Regions from separate parts of the Homo sapiens genome. Here region 1 is linked to region 2. Evidence: promoter capture Hi-C in 16 types of primary human blood cells and fetal thymus (Javierre and others, 2016). All regions are on one chromosome and are shown on one strand. The core of a region is centred on a gene start or on the middle of the fragment in contact, and the rest is flanking DNA. Distances in the headings are between cores, read along the strand shown.

Region 1 (4,142 bases), core at 30-2,529, 100 kb before region 2:
TGATTGGTGGCCAACCTCGTGCCCACATGGAAGGTATCTTTAATAGGGTCTTTTCAAACCTTAGTGGAGGAGGGTCAGCTCAATTTGGGCAATGCATTTGTTCCCAGTTTCATTTTCTTCCTGGGAATTAACTCGTCATTTCATTCCTTCAGTCATCTTCTGTGTAGGTGACCGGAGCACTGAGAGGCAGCTCTGATGCACTATTGTGTGTCAGCAGCTCAAAGGCCCTAAAACACTGAAGGTTCTGCATCTGAAGTATTAGATTGTTAGCAGCAAAATATGAAAGATGAGGTGGACAGTCCTCTAAGCCCTATTTAGGGAAGCTTTTCCAAGCCACAATCTTAACTACCTACCCAAAGGATTTGCATTACCCCCAGATTCTGTGCCAACAACCTTTTAAGGAAATACAGTCCTTGGGAAATGAGTTTTGATGGTGAATTGGGGTGTTAAGGAAGGGAAAGATTGTCATAGATGGTAGGGCTTTGAAAATGCAGGGTATCAGCTGCCACTCCTGGCTTCAACACATTGAGTCACTGCCTAGACGGTTCTCTTGGTCTTATTCCCATCCTGGCCAATGCTTAAATACTATTTGTTGAAAATAATTCTTTGAGACAGATTTCAGCTACCTCCCTTCCAGGTTCGATTTAACTTGGTTGTAATTGTCAATTTGTTGTTATAGGTCTTACCTGTGTGAAAGAAAGAAAAAGAAAGAAAGAAAGAAAGAGAAAGGAAATTATAAGGTCAAGTTAACAGTTTTGAGGTTTTGTGTTTTTTTCTGGAACTACTTCAAGTGAGAAAATAAAAAAAAATGGTGACAAAGCTGTACAGATAGAGATAATAGAAGACAAAGAGATTAAAAGGAAATAAAAATGCATGATTAAAAACTAAGAATAAAAAACCTATTTTTATGTTTCCTAAAGGAAATTGTTTATTCTACAGCCTCAGTAGGTAGACACAAACATAAAGATTTCCCTAGAAGACATAGAGTGGGATTTGATAACACTGTCTGTTATTTTCTGTACATTGTGGTAGGTCCAGGAAATATGACATTTTCCCCCTTGATGTGTTATTGTTGTTGTTGGGTGGGGTGGGCATTTTGTTTATTTGTTTGGTGGCAATCAGTGGTAGTAGGGAGTGGGAGGGCTTATATTGGTTTTTCCAGCTATTAAGGGGACATATTGTGTCGTTGTGCTTTTCACGTTATAAAATGTTTATATTTACCAGTACAGCACTGGGCTTTATAAAGACTGCACTCAGAACCACACTGCACAGTCCAGTTTTTTAAAAAGCTGCTACATGACAGACAGGTAATCCCACTGAGTGAGTTTTGAGAAACAAATCAAACGAAGTAAACAAGAAACATAAAAACCAAATAGCAAATGAATAAAAGCCTGTTCTTGTAACTTATTCAACTTTTGCCAAATTCCTACCAATCACTTGCTTTTTAAAAGAAATGTATAATAGCCAAAAGAGAAATTATGTCCCTGTTGTACAGAAGTTAGAATTTTTGACTCCAGGCAGCAGTTTGCTCAGTGATCTTGAACAAGTTATCCAATTGCCTCTACATTTGCATCAGTTTCTCTAGCTGCAAAATGGGGATAATACTATATACCTACCTCACAGTGGGAGGGCAGGAGATTTTGAGGCCCTGAGGTTTTAGGTGGGCTGTGAGGGCCAACGCTTGACACAAAGTCCATGGGTTATTATTCAAGAATGCACAGGCCCATCGGCCTTTTAGAAAGACAAGACAGGGAGTGCTTGTTTGATATTTCAAGGAATAAAGCCGGAGCTCCTGAATTGTAGTCCACCTTAAAAGAGAGACCTGTATTGGAGAATATTTTATTTTTTTGGCAAATTTGATCTTACCCTTTACCAGTTCTATAATTTGGTTAAAAGCTGATTATGTCCTACAATGTCAAAGTCAGCTAACTGTCGTCTACTTAAGACTTCTGGTCATTTCCAACTTATAGAGGAAGGGAGTCTCTAAAATCTCTTCTTCAGAAGGCACCTCACTTCTCAGACTTAAAATTCCACATCAAGTGTTCCATTAAAAGAAGATAAGGCATTCTGAGTGCAAACAAATGGGGGCTTCTTAAACTACACACCAGCAGTCAGTGAGGAAAACTTTGAACAATTATTGAGTTGCTTTCTTGGGTCTCTATAATCAATAACCTGTCTGCAGATATCTATCTATATAAAGATATTATATATAAATATAAATTTACATATATATGCACATGTATATATAGTTGTACATATATGTGTGTATATATATACTTAAATGTAATATTTACAAAATAAAACTGTGATCTCGTCTAGAGAAAATGTATTCATATTACAAACTGCTCTTCCATATTTATGTACCATATTATACCTTTTTATTATTGTTATAATTATTATGGGTATTTCTAATTAATATGATGTTGAAACCTGTTTGGCACCTTCTGGAAGCTACCAAAAAAATGACACTCCATTGAAGTGCTTAAAAGCTGTTCTCATAAGAATTCTTCTGGCCTATTGTAAAAAAGAAAAAAAAAAAGAAAAAGAAGAAAGACACAAAGAAAATAATCTAAACACCAAAAACTAAACACAATTCCAATCCTTTTTCTGTACCTCACGCGCATAAATTTGCTGCTCCTATTTTTTTTTCTGTTTATGTGTTTTTATGGATCTAAGTTAAATCTTTTGGCAATATATAAAAATGTAAATAGTAAACTTTATTTATTAAGAATGTCATCTTTTTTAATTTATATTTACACAATTGTTCATCTAATTTATTTTTTCTATACAGTTTTAAATACTCAGACATATTTTGCTGTTCATGATATTTTTATCCTGTTCTCATGGATTTGTTTTCCCATACTGTTTTCTCTGATCTCAATTACAGGTTGGATCTCACAAATAATAATGTCAGAGACAGAAATATTTTGCCACTGTTGATTACTATACTTTAAAGTTCTATATTATGAAAATATATAATAGCTTGTACGCTTCAGTGTGTTGTTGTGTGGTTTTTGTGTGTTGCGGAATGATAAAGGGCTGTCATATATACACGCTAACATGGAGAGAGCCCTGGGGCCTGGAATTAGACAATCAATGATAGAACAAGATTTTATCCAATATATATCGATTCCTCTACAAAATTAATTCCTGAAAGTATCTAATTTTGCATATGCAAAAACTGAAAAACTTTCTTACATGTTATAAGAAAGTTCTGGGGAGCTAAAGCATATGTCACTCTTGGTTATATATTGCCTTTTGCACACAGCCTTTAATAATATACTTCCAGATGTAAACACTGGTATGGTCCAAAGACACAAACCAGTGCAGTGGTTCCCAAGTGCTAAGCTGTGGATCAGAGCTAGTTCATAACTAAGTTTTCATTTGTCTAAGGCAAAATGTGGGGTCAATTGTTCATTCTTGTGGAGTTCTATCTTTTAAGATGAACTCTTTCTTACTCTTCCGGTATTAAAATGTCATATTTTATATACATATATACACACAATATATGCATATGCAGGCTCATATATACATATATATATATATATATGTATCTCCACACACACACACACACACACACACACACATATATATAATTTTACATATGTGAAAATGAGCCTGCAGCTGGAACTGAAATGTTGCTGCTTTCAATCTGTCTAGTGTATCTCACTGTTCATCTTATCACTAGGTAGTAGCTATGAGATTTTTAGAAAATTATTTAATGGCTTTAAGATTTAGTTTTCCCATATGTGATATGGAAATAATAAAAGTATTTCATAAGGTTTTTGCTAGAATTAAATGAGATAAATATGCAAAGTGTTTAGAACAGTGCTGAACATATTATATTATCTCATTATGAGTAGTATGAGACCAGAATTACTTATGACAAGTAATAATACACTAATTTTTCTGATATCTACTTATTTTATAAGATAATAGAAACAAAATGCATGAATCATTCAAGAGCTTGCACAGGCATTTTATGTAGTAAATTTATTAGCACTGTCCACTGAGCTGCTAGCTGGCAGTACCACCATAAGGCAGGTCAAAATATGTGTTTATCTGCTGATAACTACATTTTGAATTTTTCACAAAAAGGCTGTGTGGGAACATCAATGTGAATTATGTGTAAGGGCAGGGAT
Region 2 (4,259 bases), core at 292-2,791:
TGAATGAGGGAAGGAAGGAGAGAAGGAAGGAAGGAAGATGGAAGGAAAGAAAAAAGGAAGGAGGTAGAAAAGAAGAAGAGAATGAAGGAGGGAGGGAGAGAGGGAAGGAAGGAAGATGAAAGGAAAGAAAAAAGAGAGGAAGGAAAGAAGAAGGGAAGGAAGGAGGAAAGGAGGGAGGGAGGGAAGAAAGATGGAAGGAAAGAAAAAAAGGAAGGAGGAAGAAAAGAAGGGAAGGAAGGAGAGAGGGAGGGAGAGAGGGAAGGAAGGAAGATGAAAGGAAAGAAAAAAGGAGGAAGGAAAGAAGAAGGGAAGGAAGAAAGGAAGGAAGGAAGGAGGGAGGAAGGGAAGGAAGATGGAAGAAAAGAAAAAAGGAAGGAGAAAGGAAAGAAGGGAAGGAAGTAAGGAAAGAAGAAAGGAGAAAGGAAGGAAGAAGGAAGAAGGAGGGAGGAAGGAAGGAAGGAAGGGCACGGCAGGACCAGCTAGAAGGGCATCTTCTGGAGATGGATGCCCTTGAGTGACCAGGGAAGCTTTACTTCTGGTCTCACCGCTACTCGGGGCAGATGATCTGGGAGGAGGAGGGGGGGAGAGTGAGAGGGTGACTGGCATTTCCATTCAGCTCCCCTCATCTATCCCTCCCACCCACATATAGAGGTTTTCACTCTATTAAAATGACTCCCTTGCTTCCTCATTTATGTTAAAATTTTCCTTGAAATAAAGAAAAGGAAACAAGGTCACCCTTCAATCCACAATGAAAACTATAAAAGCGTTTTTAGGCTTGGAAAATTTAGCTGGTCAGTTTTTCCTACTGTTTAATAACTGCCTTGGGTTACACTGAATGAGTAAACATGTTTTACAAGCTTCTAATTCATACCTAACCCTATGAGTTCACAGCTTTACATAATATATACACACACATATACTATATATACACACATGCACACATACATACTGCAATGTAAAATATAAACACACATACATACTTAATATATATATGAGTGTGTTCGTGTGGTGTAAGTAATCTTTCCAATTTGTGCAGCTCATTAGGGCTTACAAAGCACGCTCTTTCCTCATTTAATCCTCACGATAATCCTGTGAGGTAGGCAGTTTAGGATTATCATCCCCAGTTTACAGGTACCTGTGGTTAAGGTAGAGAGACCAAGAACCCACAGGTCTCTAAGGCATCACAGTCCATATCACAGTTCTGCTCTCCATAGTCCCAAAGCTGACTTCATGAACTTGGGTAGTGCAGTGCCCACTTCTGGACCTGCAAGGACCCAAAACCATGGGGATCCTGAGGCATCATCTGTTTCAGGGCTTCATTGTACAGACAGGAAAACTAAAGCTCAGACTATTACTGCTAGCCTATAGGGTGCCTCTGTGCAAATTGGAAAAACAATAGAAAAATAAAAATCATCTCTTTCTTAAGATACTTCCCTCCCTTGTTCCAATATTCTGATTTGTTAGAACAAGACACTTGATCAATGATTAATACATGTTTATGATGTCTACAATTGGAATGGTGAGCTTTGGAATGTGGTAGCATTGTGAGCAGCAAAACCTGTGCGACTGCATCTGACATCGCCAGGATGGGGGCCCAACCAAGGTGAGGGCAAAGAGGACGGTAAGGGAGAAAGAAAGAAAGAAGGGAAGGTAAGATGGGAGAGACAGCACCTACTTTCTGAGGTCTAAGAAGAAAACCCATTTTACTTAAAGGACATTGAGATAATAATAATAACTAGTGTTTATTAAGCTCTTAATCTTTTCTGATACTTACAGTAACCCTGTGAGAGTGTTTCATATTGCTAACTACTGCTTGTATTTCTATCTTACACTCTCAAGTAATAATAATATTATTCAGAATAACAGTGACAATTGATATAACTTAAGCATTCACAATGTTAGATACTATGCCTAGTATTTCATGTACTGCATCTCATTTCAGCTTAATAACAATATGCCAGCCTGGGCGACATAGTAAGACCTCATCTCTACAAAAGTACAAAAATTAACTGGGTGTTGTATCGTGCATCTGTAGCTCCAGCTACTCAGGAAGCTGAGGTGGGAGGATCACTTGAGCCTGGGAAGTCAAGGCTGCAGTGAGCCAAGATAGTACCACTGCCCTCTAGCCTGGATGACCAAGTGAAATCCTGTCTCAAAAAAAAAAAAAAAAAAACCCAAAACAACAACAACAAAAAACACAAGTTAGCTTATTTCCCCAAATTTACAAATGAGTATATCAAGATTCAGAGAGATCCACTAACTTGCCTAAGGTCACTTGGTTAAATTGCGCAACTGAGATTTGACTATTATGAGGGAAGAGTAAAGGTCAGACACACTTTCACATCCTCTAAAAGTGACTGAAATGCTTTACATTCTCAATAATTACTAACTATGCTAGCACATCAGAGAACCCTACTTTGCATATGGGGCATCAATATCTCTGACTTCTCATCTCGTGTGCTTTTAGTATCTGATAGTCTACTCATTCCTTTAATCGCTTTGAGGCTACTGATGAATGGAACCATCTAGATCATGAATCCAGGGAGTCTCTGCTCTGTGGAAACAATGTTGGTTCCCGCTCAGCTTTTCCCTGGTGCCCAGCTCGCCTCCCTGTTTCCACCTCTCCCTTACTGGATACCCAATCAATGCAAATGGATCTGAGTAGTCATTAGAATTTATTTTTTAAGAAAAGCAAGGCAAAACCAAACCAAAACCAGAAGTCTGCCACAATATGCAAAGAACCACCTTTGGATTCCAATAAAACTGGGCTTCCTACCTTTAGCATCCTCTTGTGTAAGACAGGAATAAGAAGTATTACCATTTTAATAGAATGTTTCAAGGATTCAATGTGTAAAATATCTGACCCAGTGCTTCTCCTTAATGTATAAAATGTATTCCAAAACAAGAAGTGGCGATGGGTCGGGGGCACTCATGTTGCACTAGAACTTTACAGTGTACCTGGTATTTTCATATCCATCAACTCCTAGGCAATCCAAAGCCTCACTACTGCTCCAGCTAGAGCGCCTTCCCTCTCCCTTTGCTGACTACACTTCAATGACTGTGCCCTCCTTGGTGCTCCTGAGGATGCTCCAGGGGCTTTGCTATTGCTACATCCTCAGTCTGGAGCAGTCTACATTCAGCTAGCCACATGGTTCACTTCCTCCCACTTTCCGGTCTCTGCTCAAACATCACACCCTCAAAGAGGTTTGTCCTGATCACTGTAACTAAATGGTATGCCCCCAACCTCTATCCTCATACCCTATTTTTCTTTCAAACACATAGTACACTTTGACTCTGTATTGCACATCTATTACTTTACCATCATTGCCTCCCAACCCTCTGTACCGGGAACATAAGCTCCATGATAGGAGCTTGTTCAGTGCCTTCTCCTCAGCTTCTGGAATAGTGTTCGGTATGTAGTAGGTGTTCAATAAGTGGTTACTGAATGACTTAACTCATAGTTGTTCATGAAACTCTGAGAGGCTGGCAAGGCTGGCATTCTGATGCACACTTTACATGTGAATAAACTGAGGCCCAAGGAGGTGAAGAAAATTTTCTAAAGTCCTTCAGCTGGTGGATAACAGGAGTGGGACTAGCAAACTGAGCTGCCAGACTCAAATCCAAAGCTCTTTGTATTTCACCAACTTGTATTTCCTATTATTGCTCCCCTTCACCTCCAAGCATGCCCTGGGAAATGGGTGTTATTTGGGATTTTACCTCTTAGGCGGGAAGCCCCAGAGATGGAGGAGTAAGAAGGAGTGACTTCACATGTTCTCCACCCAGACATAGGCCTTGCTAGAGTCCCATGAACAAACTAGAGCTCTGGCCCTCATCTGGGAGCAGGCAGACCAGCCACTAGCAGCCAAAAGGAGGAAGGGATTGATAAATAGAGAGAATGTGGGAGGAGGGCAGGAAGGGGATTGCTGTAGCCATCTCCAACCCCCCAAAAAGTCAGGCAGGAGAAGTCCAATTACCCTTTCAGAGTAATTTCCGCTCTATAAAGTGATGACTTACTTCACCGCCCAGAGGTTTCCATTTGCCAACTGGGGATAGACAAGTCCTGCAGGGGAGGGAGCGACTTACTGACTCTTCAGCTCCCTGGAGGGGAAAGGAACCTGGGCTTGGACGTGGGCTGTGCTCTGACTTGCTTTTTTACTTTGTGACTCACCTGCCCTCTCTGGACCTCAGTTCACTCATCTATTTAAAGAATTCTGAGGCCTAGAAAAACTCTGGGGATTGGTTTAAGGAAGATGGCATAG

What was found. Contacts are between HindIII fragments. The CHiCAGO score rates a contact against its expected background, and 5 or more counts as called.
Region 1: a contact is called between the fragment with the promoter of PAPPA-AS1 here and the fragment with the promoter of ASTN2-AS1 in region 2, in 13 of 17 cell types (neutrophils, M2 macrophages, M0 macrophages and 10 more). The highest score is 13.5, in neutrophils.

What each region holds. Positions count from the first base shown.
Region 1 is chr9:116,399,327-116,403,468 of GRCh38, forward strand. PAPPA-AS1 (PAPPA antisense RNA 1) reads right to left here and starts at 1,280. Exons shown (of 1, transcript NR_103711.1): 1 at 1-1,280. It overlaps PAPPA (pappalysin 1), which reads left to right. Exons shown (of 22, transcript NM_002581.5): 22 at 1-2,995. The HindIII fragment of the contact is 11,566 bases long and covers 322-4,142 here.
Region 2 is chr9:116,502,742-116,507,000 of GRCh38, forward strand. ASTN2-AS1 (ASTN2 antisense RNA 1) reads left to right here and starts at 1,542. Exons shown (of 12, transcript NR_033973.1): 1 at 1,542-1,603. All of the region lies in intron 19 of ASTN2 (astrotactin 2), which reads right to left. RefSeq lists an enhancer at 2,742-2,911. The HindIII fragment of the contact is 9,663 bases long and covers 856-4,259 here.